Linked DNA regions of Homo sapiens: all the other regions are linked to region 3. The links are contacts of gene promoters, found by promoter capture Hi-C in blood cells and fetal thymus (Javierre and others, 2016). All regions are on one chromosome and are shown on one strand. The core of a region is centred on a gene start or on the middle of the fragment in contact, and the rest is flanking DNA. Distances in the headings are between cores, read along the strand shown.

Evidence for each region. Contacts are between HindIII fragments. The CHiCAGO score rates a contact against its expected background, and 5 or more counts as called.
Region 1: a contact is called between a fragment that was not itself captured here and the fragment with the promoter of MAP1B in region 3, in 1 of 17 cell types (endothelial precursors). The highest score is 5.4, in endothelial precursors.
Region 2: a fragment that was not itself captured here is called in contact with the fragment with the promoter of MAP1B in region 3 in 1 of 17 cell types (endothelial precursors); the score reaches 14.5 in endothelial precursors.
Region 4: a fragment that was not itself captured here is called in contact with the fragment with the promoter of MAP1B in region 3 in 1 of 17 cell types (endothelial precursors); the score reaches 6.6 in endothelial precursors.
Region 5: a contact is called between a fragment that was not itself captured here and the fragment with the promoter of MAP1B in region 3, in 1 of 17 cell types (endothelial precursors). The highest score is 5.5, in endothelial precursors.

The regions. Positions count from the first base shown.
Region 1 is chr5:71,802,178-71,804,877 of GRCh38, forward strand. No RefSeq gene overlaps it. Among named protein-coding and RNA genes, the nearest start is that of CARTPT, 84 kb to the left of the region's middle. The HindIII fragment of the contact is 940 bases long and covers 793-1,732 here.
Region 2 is chr5:71,783,580-71,786,279 of GRCh38, forward strand. No RefSeq gene overlaps it. Among named protein-coding and RNA genes, the nearest start is that of CARTPT, 66 kb to the left of the region's middle. The HindIII fragment of the contact is 2,471 bases long and covers 181-2,651 here.
Region 3 is chr5:72,106,099-72,108,798 of GRCh38, forward strand. It overlaps MAP1B (microtubule associated protein 1B), which reads left to right and starts at 1,377. Exons shown (of 7, transcript NM_005909.5): 1 at 1,377-1,617. The coding sequence starts at 1,434. LOC105379028 (a long non-coding RNA gene) reads right to left here. Exons shown (of 3, transcript XR_007058813.1): 1 at 2,677-2,700; 2 at 1,827-1,889. RefSeq lists enhancers at 1,296-2,278, 2,684-2,700. The HindIII fragment of the contact is 9,795 bases long and covers 1-2,700 here.
Region 4 is chr5:71,765,760-71,768,459 of GRCh38, forward strand. No RefSeq gene overlaps it. Among named protein-coding and RNA genes, the nearest start is that of CARTPT, 48 kb to the left of the region's middle. The HindIII fragment of the contact is 570 bases long and covers 1,136-1,705 here.
Region 5 is chr5:71,841,207-71,843,906 of GRCh38, forward strand. No RefSeq gene overlaps it. Among named protein-coding and RNA genes, the nearest start is that of CARTPT, 120 kb to the left of the region's middle. The HindIII fragment of the contact is 4,504 bases long and covers 1-2,700 here.

The DNA of each region.
Region 1 (2,700 bases), core at 13-2,512, 300 kb before region 3:
CACCACATCTGCAGTCACTTCCTCCACTGAAGTCTTGAACCTCTCACGGTCATCCATGAGGGTAGGAATCAGCTTCTTCCAAACTCCTGTTAATTTTTTTTTCTAGAGACAGGATCTCACTATGTTGCCCAGGCTGGAGTGTAGTGGCTATTCATAGGCATAATTATAGCCCACAACAGTCTTGTGGGCAATCCTCCTACCTCAGCCTCCTGAGTAGCTAGGATTACAGGCACAGACCATTGTAATGGCTTATTAACGTTGATTTGTGACCTCCCTCCACAAATCACAAATGTTCTTAATGGCGTCTAGAATGGTGAATGCTTTACAGATGGTTTTCAATTTACTTTGCCCAGATCCATCAGAGGAATCACTATCTATGGGAGCTATAGCCTTACAAAATGTATTTCTTAAATAAGACTTCAAAGCCAAAATTACTCCTTGATCTGAAGAATGGATATTTTGTTAGCAGGTGTGAAAACAACATTAATCTCCTTGTACATCCCTGCCAGAGCTCTTAGGTGACCAGGTGCTTTGTCAGTGAACATTACTATTTTGAAAAGAATCTTTTTTCTCAGTAGATTTCAAAATTGGGCTTAAAACATTCAGTAAACCACGCTATAAACAGATGTGCTGTCATCAGGCTTTGTTGTTCCATGTGTAGAACACAGGCTGAGTAGATTTTACACAATTCTTAAGTGTCCTGGGATTTTCAGAATAGTAAATGAGCATTGGCTTCAACTTAAAGTCACGAGCTGCTTTAGCTCCTAACCAGAGTGTCAGCCTGTCCTTTGAAGCTTTAAAGCCAAGCGTTGACATCTCCTCCCTAGCTGTGAAAGTCCTGGATCTCACCTTCTTCCACCCTAAGGCTGTTTCATCCGCATTGAAAATCTGTTTTTTAGCGTAGCCACCTTCATCAATGATCTTAGCCAGATCTTCTGGATAACTTGCCATAGCTTCTACATCAGCATTTGGTGCTTCACCTTGCATTTTTATATTATGAAGATGGCCTCTTTCTTTAAACCTCATGAACCAACCTCTGCTAGCTTCCAGTTTTTCTTCTGCAGCTTCTTCCCCTTGCTCTGGATTAGGTTTTGGCTTAGGGGAATGCTGTGGCTGGTTTGATCTTTTATCCAGACCACTGAAACTTTCTCCACATCAGCAATCAGGCTCTTTGGCTTTCCTATCATTCGTGTGTTCACTGGAGTGGCACTTTTAATTTCCTTCAAGAACTTTTTTCTTTGCATTCACAATGTGGCTAACTGGCACAAGAGATCTCACTGTCAGCCTATCTTGGCTTTCAACATACCTTCCTCACAAACTTAATCATTTCTAGCTTTTGATTTGAAGTGAGAGACACATGACTCTTCCTTTCACTTGAACACTTAGAGGCTATTGTAGGGTTATTAACTGGCCTAATTTCAGTATTGGTATGTCTTTGGGAATAGGAGGCCCAAGGAGAAGGAGAGAAGTAGGGGAATCGCTAGTTGATGGAGCAGTCAGAACACACCCATTTATCAATTAGGTTTGCCGTCTTATAGGAACGTGGTTCTTGGCATCCCAAAACAACTGCAATAGTAACATCAAAGATCATTGGTCACAGATAACCATAGCAGATATAAGAGTAATGAAAAAGTTTGAAATTCTGTGAGAATTATGAAAATGTGACATGAAGGGAGCACATGCTATGAGATAAATGGCACCAATAGATTTGCTCGACCCACTGTTGCCACAAAGCTTCAGTTTGTAAAAATCGCAATATCTGCAAAGCACAATAAAGCAAAGCCCAATAAAAGGAGATGTGCCTGCATATTTTTTCATGTCAATAATACTTTTGGTACCAGTATGTATTCTATTATACAGATGCACAATAAGTTATTTGGTGAATCTCCTATTTACAAACATTTAGGTGGTTCATGATTTTTCACCACTACAAATAATGCTAAATGAATAATTCTATACGTATTTCTTTACACAATTTGTGGAATTGCAACTTTGGGTAAATTCATAAAAGTAGAGTATGTAAATTAAGGTGTGAACCTGCTGGAAATTTGGAACCATTTTGAAAAATTGTCATTCAGAGATGTTATATGAGTTTATACTCCCATCCATAGTATGCAAAACTGCCCTTTTGCCAACACACTTCTCAATATAGAGTATTAGCAAACTTTTTTTTTGCCAATCTGAAAAGTGAAAAATATTTGTTCTTTATATGTTTGATGATTAATAAAGTTGAATTTTTTTTACCTGTATGTTGGCCAATTGCTGTTTTTTCTTTTGTGTATTGCCTGTTAGTCTCTCCTGTATTTCTACTAATATCAAAATGTTTTTCTAATTGATTTTTTAAAAACTATTTTCATATTAGGGCTATCAGCGTATTGTCATTTTGTTAAAATATTTGTGGTAGTTTTTGAAAGACAGAATGTGTTAGTTTCCTATTGTTACTATAACAAAGTATCACAAGCTTGTGGCTTTAAGTAACATAATTTTATTCTCTTACCATTCTGGAGCCCAGAAGTCCAGTTTCACTGGGCTAAGGTCAAGGTGTTGGCAGGGCTAGTTCTCCTGGAGGCTCTGGGAGAGTGTTTCCCTGTCTTTTCTAGCTTTTAAAGGTTGCCGTGGCGTTTTTGTCCTGTACTCCTTCCTTGCAACACTTCATGCGTCTGTCTCCACATCTCCTGAGTCCTTTGACCTTCTTGCCTC
Region 2 (2,700 bases), core at 166-2,665, 320 kb before region 3:
TTACAGCACGTTCTGCTAGGAAGTGTTTACACTTCAGGGCTGAACTCCTAGCACGATTAATAAACATCACCACCACAACATAAGAACGACTGAGCATGTGGTACCTATCCGCTCATTTAACCCTTACAGTAATCTGGGATATGTCCTTTATGATGTACTTTTTTCAGGCTAGAAAACTGAAGCTTAGGTTCAATAATTTGCCTAAAGTCATTCAACGTGTGATCAGAAGAGTAGAGATTGAAACTCAGACCATCTGACTCCAGGCCCACAAGGTTGTCCCCGGCACCCTACTAGAACAGCAATTTTGGGGGTAACGGGGCACCCCGGAGGCAGTGCTCAGTGGTTCCAGGTAGCTTGGTGTGCAGAGAGGCACCCAGGTATAGAGATGTGGTAGTCGTTTAGTGTTCACTGTGTCATGTGAGCGCTGTGTCATGTCCTGTGGCTTCTCTCAACACCGTGTGCAGAATCCAAACTTCCCCAGGCCTGCAAGCTCTGAGCTCTGTTCCCCTCTCCTATCCTGCTTGGTCACCCTCCAGGCATCTTTCTCCTTCCAGAACTTGCCAAGCCCATTTCTGCCTCAGGCTCTTTGCACCTGAGCTCTCTTCCCTTAACTCCTCACTGGCTGGCTCTTTTTCCTCAGGGCTCAGCGCAGACAGCCCTTTCTCACCCCATGATGTAAGGAGGCTCCCTCTGCCTCAAGGCCTCCTGACTCCTCACTCTGTTTTATTCCTTTATCGCACTTGTAATGATCTCTAAGTATCTTGTTTGCCTGGGTATCGTCTGTTTTTCTCTCATTGGAATGTAAACTCCATGAGGAGGGGATTGGACAGTCTGGTTCATTGCTGTATTCCTGGAACCTAGAACATGCCAGAAACAAAGGAGGTGCTTAATAAACATTTATTGAATAAATATGATGGGGGAATGTGATAAAAGCAGCAGGAGTTGTGGTCCCACCTGTCAGGAGGCTCACAGGACAACGAGAGAGCCCAGGTTGGCATGAAACAACTGAAGATCAATCATGGCAAGGGTGGTAGTGGCCCAGAATAGTGGTCACAAAAACAGATTCTGGGGCTTACCCACCTTGGGAGGCTGAGGCAGAAAGACGGTTTAAGCCCAGGAGTTTGAGAACAACCTGGGCAACAAAGTGAGACCCTGTCTCTACAAAAAAATAAAAAAAATTATCCTGGTATGGTGGTGTGACCCTGTAGTCCTAGCTACCTGGGAGGCTGAGGTGGGAGGATTGATTGAGCCCAGGAGGTCGAGGTTGCTGTGAGTTGTGATTGTACCACTGTACTCAAGCCTAGGTAACAGAGTAAGATCTTGTCTCTAAAATAAAATAAAATAAAAATAGATAAATCCTGACTCCAGTACTCACTGGCTGTGTGATCTTGGCCAAGTTATTTAGCTCTTTCATGCCTCAATTTTCTCATCAGTAAGTTGAAGATAATAATATTAGTAATATTAATACCCACTCATGGAATTGTTTAAGGATTAAATGAGATATATATGAGTGCTTGGAATGGTGACTGGCACATAGTGCTCTATAAATATTTTTTAAGTAAATAAAGGTATAATTAAGCAGAAACCTATGGCTTTAGAAATTCAGAAAAATGAAAATGCCAGTGTTGGGGAAAGCCCTGTTTCTTGGAGGTGGTTGGATTTGGATTGAGGAAGACAGGGAGTCTGAGGGGATATTTGCACTTGCTCTGGTGCCTCATTTCTATGTAAATATCTATTCAAGAAATATTTGTTTATTGATTTATTTTTGTTCAATAAATATTTATTGAGCATTTATTATGTGTCAGTGCCTAGGATGCAGCAATAAAATTGTAAACAGTACAAAATGAATTTCATTGATTTAAAAAAATTTTTTTTCTTTTTTTTGAGGAAGATGCTCTTTTTTCTCATTTCTTGAATTGGATTCTTGACTTGTATACTTTCAGGAAATATTTATTAAGCATGAGCAAAAAATGGTTAGTAAATCATCCCTCCCAGCCCCACCCCCAAAGTATGCTAAGAATTTATTATATATAATGGGAGTTTTTTAAAAAAACGTTAGTATTGTTTGGACTTAACATACAGAATGATGCTCTAGAAAACCATAGCCTCTCTTCTTCCTCCAGCTACAGTCTTTCCTGTCCCAGTTAGGGTACAGGTTCTGAAATGAACCTCGACTGGCTCTAGGTGACTCTGCTGGAGAGAAGTTCAAATTCCTCACTCTCTCCTCTTAGTTCGATTCAACCAACATGCACTGAGAGCTAACTTTATGCAAGGCAGACATGCGAGTGTAGAGAGGGTAATAAAAATGACATCCTTGATAACACAAGCATCTAGAAGAAGTTTAGAATGAATAGTGGCCCCAGGCCTGCAGTGCAGAGAGGAACCATGATGGGAGCCGGAGGGGAACGGACAGAAGGCCCAGGCCCAAGACGGGACTTCATGTCGCAGAGTGAAACTGGCTCCCAGTCCCCAGGTGGAGGTGGCTCTGAAAGATGACAGTGCCTAAAAAATAGCAACAACATTGAAAACACAATGAAATGCTCATTTTTATATTAAGGGAGGGTGAGTTTTAGAGAAGGGCTCTGTGCATTTTCAACAAGGTGGGAGATAAATGGAAAGAAGCCTTCTCTTGGCTGTAAAGACAACATCAAAGCTTCTCTATTGATCCAAGGGAAATAATTACAGCGATATCCTGAGAGA
Region 3 (2,700 bases), core at 127-2,626:
TATCTATCTATCTATCTATCTATCTATCATCTATATTTTACTAACAGGCATTCTAGTATTAAAGCTATGTTGACTAATTTCCATCTATTCCTCTTCCTTAAAGCTCGAATTCCCCAGTCTTCTATGATACCATGTTTGCACATTTTGCTCTTTCCTCACCCTCCTCCCCTTTTCTGGGACAGAAGCTATATTCAGTATGTTTGTGAGAAACGGTTGTAAATAGGCTGCCTTAAAAAAAAAAACAAAAAAACAAAAACAAAAAACACATTTTTTAGTTCTTCTAAACACAAACAAAGGCAATAAAAATTCCCAATGCTACAGGTATTTTAAAAGACATCATTGTCACGAGGTAATTTTGCTTGTGTGTTCCCCAAGGAACTGAAAAGTACATTATAGTCACTGTAACCCTGCTGAGTAGAGACAGTATCTTCTCTTTATTCTTTGTTATTACTGATACTATCTGTTCAGCACATTAAGGAAAGAAATTGGTATCTAATATAATACATCTGCATTTCTCTCATTTCCCATGAGCACCACAAAGCCAGTACTTTTTCATCCTTGGCCCTGCCAGAGTAGAATCCAAGGCCTGAACAATAGTAGGCTTAAGTTTTGCATTTTTGATGTATTCTTTAAGTGAAGGTGGTAAATATTGATATTGGTAAATATCAGTAAATTCGTCTTCTTAAAGCCACAAGGTCAAAGAAAAGACAGGTTCCGTCTTCCTAGGCGGGGTACCCACAGCCCCGCATCTGCCCACTGTGGCTATCCCAGTTCCTGAGAACCTGGCTACATCATACACAGCACACAAGGCAGAGGCCTGACTAGTGCAACTCCAACAAGAGAAAAGACCCCCACTCCGAAAATGGAAACTCATCCCATTCCCATGCACAGACAGGGTGAGGGTGAGGAGTGGGCAGTGGGTGTGTACGTGGTGGGTGGTGTAGGTTGAGAGCGTCTTCCCCCTTCACGGCTGCAGCAGGAGCTCAGCGGGCGCCCCAGCCCCTTGGCTCGCGGCCCTGCCCCGACCATTGTCCGCACACCTCGTCCCTCCAGCTTCCGGGCCGCGGGCGAGATGATTTGCTGCAGATGACATCAGCCCCGGGCCAACGGCTGGAAGAGCGGAGGCAGCCACCGCGTGAGGATGTGCCGGGTGGTCCTTTCCTCCTCCTCTTCCTCCTCCTCCCGGCTCCCTGCCTAGTCTCCATATAAAAGCGGCGCCGCCTCCCCGCCCTCTCTCACTCCCCGCTCCTCTCCGCCGCGCACTCTCCGCGGCGCTGGGAGAGGGCGGAGGGGGAGGCGGCGCGCGGCGCCAGAGGAGGGGGGACGCAGGGGGCGGAGCGGAGACAGTACCTTCGGAGATAATCCTTTCTCCTGCCGCAGTGGAGAGGAGCGGCCGGAGCGAGACACTTCGCCGAGGCACAGCAGCCGGCAGGATGGCGACCGTGGTGGTGGAAGCCACCGAGCCGGAGCCGTCCGGCAGCATCGCCAACCCGGCGGCGTCCACCTCGCCTAGCCTGTCGCACCGCTTCCTTGACAGCAAGTTCTACTTGCTGGTGGTCGTCGGCGAGATCGTGACCGAGGAGCACCTGCGGCGTGCCATCGGCAACATCGAGCTCGGTAAGTGGCCCCGCGCCCCCAGAGACGCGCGCTGGGAGACGCGCAAACACGACCCCACCCAGGGCGCGACGGTCACTGCGCTCCTCCCGCGCGCCCCGCACCCATGCCTCTCCTCGTCACCTCTCATACTTGGTCCAGACCCTTTCTGGGCTAATTAAGAATAATCCGAATTATTAGATATGAGACCCAGAGGGAGAGTCTCCAATAACCTTGAGGGATCTGTCACCACGCTGAGTCCGCAGCCTGTGCTGAGTTGGCCACCGCCTCTCCCGCTAAGTGAAATGCAGGTGTCAGGGGAGCAGAGGCCACAATAAAGCCGCAACCGCAGGAGGCAGAAGGGTGGGGGAGACCTGATGCAACCACTCCTTTCAGTCCTCTTCTGGCCTCAGGAAAAGGCTGGGACCCCCACCACCGCAGACCTGGGGCCGAAGCCCATGTGCCAGGGCCCGCGTGGGATTCATCCTCACCACGGCTACCTCAGCCCCTGAGAAACGCCTTTTCTGATTTCAAACCTCCCGATCCTTTCTTTCCTCAGAATGACTAGGCTAGTCCTAGGGCCACGCCCGCTCCCCCCGCCCCCCCCTCCCCGGGGAGATGCTGGGATGCAGAACCGCCTGCGCTTCGCCACCAGACAGAGCCCGCCTCGCTACCGCCCTTGGGGCCTTGGCTGCAGCTCTCAGAAAGGACAATGGGACCCCAAGTTGCGGGGTGGGGCTGCTGCTTTTAGAAGTCCCAGCCTCGGGAGTGGTAGCTTGAAGGGGGTCGGTGAGGGAGACGTCAGCGGGTAGGGTCAGCTCCTCGCCCGGTGCTCGCACCAGTGGCGCGCTCTGCGGAGGCCGAATAGCGGTACGCCGGGGACCCTGGGCGGGGCCGTGAGGGTCCGGCGGGCACAGCCTCGGGCGCACAGAGAGACCGCCCCCAGCCCCACCCGAGCTGCCGCAGTGCCTCCGGACCGCCCGCCACACCTGCCCCCCCACACTGCGGCGCCCCCGTCGGGCACGGCTGGCTGGGCTTGCGCTCCGCCCGGGCCTCGGGCTGGCGGGGGCCGCGCGCCCCCACCTCTCAGTTTGCCTGGCTTTGTTG
Region 4 (2,700 bases), core at 171-2,670, 340 kb before region 3:
GCCTGTTGTGGCAAAGTGGCCTTGTAGCCTGATGGCAGTCCTCTAAAAGAGCCACAGGTATGGGCTGTTAGAAGTAAAGACACACGGAAGCTGGAGGAGTGCACACACACCACACACACAGATCCCAGGAGTTCTGGTTGGAACACGAAGGTGGTTTACACCGTGGTTGCTAAAAATTCTGTAGAATACTGTTGGAGATCATTGAGGCGGTGAGAAGGAGGTGGTGTGGATGACACCTGCCTGAGGAGATTTTCAATGTGGATGCAACAGTTTAATTTTAGAAGATGCCTGATAGAGTGTAGGTAAAGCAAAGAGAACAGCACAGCCAGTTTTAAAGCTTCGGGAGCCCTGCTCACACATGAGTGTGATGGCAATCCATCCAGGGACTGCAAGCTTGGACCCTTCTTGATTATGTTTTACTTACTGACACACATACTTACGAAGAGCTTCTGGAACTAAGTAGCTGCTTCTTTGTGAGTGGGAGGAGGCAGGATGAGCCTTAGAAGTTGCTCCTTAGGTCACCCCTAATATTTACAGGACCTGGGGCCGAGCGTTCAAGGTTAGATAAAATAAGTTCTAACACTTACTTTGACAAATACGCTTTCAAAATAGTCTGGAAGGCCAGGCTCAAATTTTGAATTTTCAAACTCCTTGGAGTTTCATGCTGAAATGTGGTGGCTAGGAGAAGGCTGGGCCCAAGCTCATTGGCCCCCACCTGAGCCCCCTTCCCTTTCCATCACTGTCTCCTTCATTGCAAGCATCTTTGAGTACATGTGTGTGGATGCCCCACCTGGAATGTCCAGAGCCTCTGCAAATAGCTGCCCTGGACATTCTTTGGGCTTGGGAGTGTAAATACCAGTGGTGTGGTTTACCCCTGGGAGGATGCACCTATGGACAAGGCCTGTACAGGTCCTGCAAGCAGGCTTGGGGTTGTTTGGGCAGAGAATTCAAGGCTCTTGAGCATCTAGGAAGTGGTCTAGAAGGGCTCTGGGTGGGCACATGCCCTTGGTCTTGCAGATTCCTCTTGCGGTAGAGACAGACATAATCCAAAAAAATGTCAGAGTGGGGCTTTCTAAAACACAAGGTCCAGGTACCGGGAGATACTGCCGAGCGGTGTGATTTTAAGTCACAGTGAAGCTTATCATGAAGAACTGGACCATGGAGGTAGGGAAAGATGCTACTTCACCAATAGGTCATTTCTCAAGATGACTATCTGGGAAATAAACTGTGAACAGGACACATTGGTCTATCCCTTAAAGACCTGAGTGGATTCTTTGATTCATACTGAAGTAGAGAGAGAATGGGGTCAATTGCAAATACCACCTGCCTGTTAGCTTTCAAGGAGTATGGATAGATTTTGCCTCATTTGAGAACGAGTAAACATCAGCAACACATGAGCCCAGTAAAAAAATACTGCAGAACAATGGATAAAGGACAGTACTCTGGAACCTCATAGAAAGATTCTATCTCTGAAGAGCCTATAGGAACAAGAAGAAAATTACAGGAGATTGTTTAGAATCTGCAATAATAGAATTCAATGAGGCATTGTGTTGTGAAACAGGAACATAACACCATGATGAGACAACAGGCTGAAAGAAGACAGCATGTTGAGATATGGAAGGCTTTCAAGTAAACCAAGAGCACAATAACATGATCAGTACCTAACTGTAAATCAGAATCAGTTATGTACTGAACAAATTTGAGAAGCTTTTCTAGGATGCAGAAAAAAATGCACAAGCAGAAGGAAAGAGAGAAAATGAAACCTCTAACATTTGATTACTTTGTGTTTCTAGGGAAGACAGCATAACACATGGAATAGAAGCAATCATAAAAGATGAAATAAAACCTAAGTTTGCAGGCTGCAGGGGTTCACTGCATTTCAGATGAAAACAGAAGAGATCCACATCTACATATATTCAAAGAAAAATTTTGAATTATACAGATTTTTAAAAAGTCCTATAAATCTATTTAGAAAAGATAATTTATCTGTCAATTGCAGGAATTATTGAGTAGTTTTTTCTCCTAAAAGCACTCTGATGCTATTTTGGGAAACTGACTCCTCTCTACTTGAGTCATTACAATGGAACCATAAGTCAAGATATTTTGTCCTTTCCTGCCAAGAAATGGGAATGCAACCTGAGACTGACAGGAGTGTCTCTCTGGAACTGAAACTTTAGCAGAGCAATAAAATGACAGAATATAGTTGTATCTGCTCATTCATCCTAGTTGCAATGCCATAATGTCTTTTATCACTTCTTACAAATTCTAGGATTGGCCCTTGTTTCTTTTTCAAACCTGTTGGGTTACCTTTTCTAGGTTCTAAGTTCCCCTATATTCTGCTTATAACTTCCACTTTTGCTCCAGTTGGCAAGATACCCTAAGAGAAAGGTAGATTTTTGAGGAGCGGGGAAACTGGCCAGAATGGGGAAAAGGGGGAAAATTCGCTTTCATATTGCGGGTTAGTATCCCAACAGTGTAAAACAACTGTTACGTTCCCTCTATGTGCGCCAGAAGGTGGTGCTCTGAAAAACTGAGTAGCTGATGGCAAAAAATAATTTAAACATTCTGGAACAACAGGGTAGGATGGCTGCTTCTGGTGGCATTGAATAACATAAAGTAAGAGAATAGCAAAATCAGATCTCTAAATTATCACATCAGGCTAATTTTCTGTGGCCTTTCTGTTTGGCTCTTCAAGACTCA
Region 5 (2,700 bases), core at 141-2,640, 260 kb before region 3:
TTGGCAAAGGAACAGCAAAGATTGCCAGCAACCCACCAGAAGGTAGGTGAGAGGCATGGTGCAGATTCTTCCTCACAGCCCTTGGAAGGAACCAACCCTGCTGACACCTTGATCTTGGACTTCCAGCCTACAAAAGTATGAGACAATACACTTGTGTTGTTTAAGCCACCCAGTTTGTGCTACTTTGTTATGGGAACCCTGCCAAACTAATACAAAAGGCAATCCAAGCAGCTGGTAATCTTGTTAGCCCCTCAGGAGAAGATGTTTGTGGTCCCCACTCTAGAGCCCCATAACTAACGAAGCTCAGGTCTTTTCTCTTCCTTTGCTTCTCCAGGTATCATTTTGTCTCTCTACATGTTGTCTCCACCCATATTTCCAGTCTGAATTCCTGAGAAAGAGAAACCGATGGGCAGGCTCTGTATGTTGGCTATCTTTAGGGCAAGTGCCTGTCCTTGATCCAATTAGCTGGGTCCAGGGTCACCAGGCTCTTGGGTTAGCAGGATAGGGATATATGCACAGAAGGAAACATGTTTAAAAGAATTTTAACATGAAAACCATTCTGAGGCTTGGCCTGCCCAGTACAATAGGTGACATATACATGGTATTCCATCATGGGCTTAGCTTGATTTGTACAACCTCATCCTACTTGCTGCCAATGCTTTAGGAAAAATTAGTCAGTTTAATGCCAGGTTATATTGTGATAACATATTAAGTCTGAAATACCAGTAATTAATGCAGCAAGTGTTTATTTCTCACTCACAGTACACATGTAATAAGGGTCATGGGGATTTCTGCCCTATACAGTCGCTTGGGGGATCAGGCTAACAGAGGCTTTACTAACTTGTACTTGCATCACTGGTAACACAGGGCCTCCTTGGCTGTCCATAAGAGAGGAGAGACACAGGAGAATCTGACTTCATTTCCCCAGGTGGGAAGTGACATATATCTCGTCCACCCTCATTTCATTGGTAAGACCTAGTCATGTGACCCACTTAATTACAAGGAGGCCGAATAATGTTTTCTTCCTATGTGCTGGGGACCAGGAAGAGGAGAACCAGATATTAGTGATCACTAGCAATGTTTGCTTCTACTGCATAGTTCTAACGTATAGTTTTTATGTGTGCATATGTGTGTATATGTTTCATGGAAAGAAGTTTATAATCATTTGATTAACAGTACTTTGATACTGGAGTGCTTTCTGGGCTATGATAGACCTAAGATTGACTAAAGGATATGTAACATTTTCCTAAGCATCAGTTATAACTGTCTCTTTTTCTCTCACTCAAGAGAGGATGTTACAATCCAAGGGGGTGCAATTACAGGGATAACTTTGAATCCACTCTAATTCAATTTTTAAGGTAAATCATTCACAAAGTTCAATACTTTAGGAATTACTTGATTAAAATTATTTACCTCTCATTTCATAATTAATCAAGATGTGTTTTGTATTACATGCTTGAAAAATCACCACTCTAAATCTTGGTAAAAGTAAAAGAATAACCAGGAGTTGATGATTTTGAAAGAGTATAACGAAAAAATATTCTGACACTTGTTAAAAGGGTGAGGAAGACTTTACTCAGGTCCACTGCAATAGGTGTCAAGACTATTGCAACAGGGAAGACTGATCAGGCTCAACTCTGAATACTGCAAGGATAGATGAGGATTTACAGCCAATGAGCAGAGACGGGGTCGATAGATGGAAAATGACTAAGGATGAGGAGATTCTTGCTAAATTGCCTTAAGGTTCATGTTGAAGGTGGGCCAGGGTGATGACATATAGAGGTTTTGGGATTCTCACTAAATTGACTTAGCAGGATTCTTGTTTTTCTTTCCTTTCCTTCTTTTTCCTCAGTGCTCTGTATCTCTGATCTTTGACACACACTCACTGACATGGAGATGACCAGAGGCTAGATAAATAAGCTCAATAAATAAACATGCTATTATTCCTCCAAGGAGTATAAGAAGCAGTCACACTTAAAATGATGACTACAAACTTTTTTCCCCTTCTCACCATTGCATACCAGCAGATTGCAAGTATCCTTCAAGTCGAGTGGTCTACAGCACTCAGCTTATGGAGAGGGTGTGGCACCGCATTATATCATGCTTGGATGTTCAAGTGCTTATCCTCCCTCCTTAGTTATGATCGCAAGGGCTGGAGTCTTCTCTTTCAGCTGTCAGTGTGTAATCATAGAGCTTGGATAGTGTTTGGCACATGGCTAGCCACACTGCAAATGATCATTATTCAATTTGACTCAGAAAATAGCAATTTTCCATCCTAAGGATTGAACCTATGTGCCTGTGTTGGGGTTTATGGCTGCCTCATCAACTAATTTGAGGTACCAAGAGGGCACAAAACAAAGACACTTGCTGATCCTGGTACAATTTATTAATTTTAAGAAACTCAAAATGGAGGTTAGTTTACATTGCCAAAGTGCTGACCAAAGACCCAAAGTCCTTAAAATCTTTTTTTAAGGTAAAAAGTAAAAATTCTTCTTTAAGGGTAGTTCAAATGTTTTAACTTCTTCCAAAGAAAATATCTGCTTCATTTAAAATTAAATTTAATTAGACAGAGACGCCAGAATTTTCCTTTCAGTGACTTGGGCATTCCTTTGGAGAGGTTAACCGAAGGAATTCTTTTTGCAAACATAAATATTGCACTGGGGTATGGTAGAGGGGTTCTCAATCAGGAGTGAAGATATT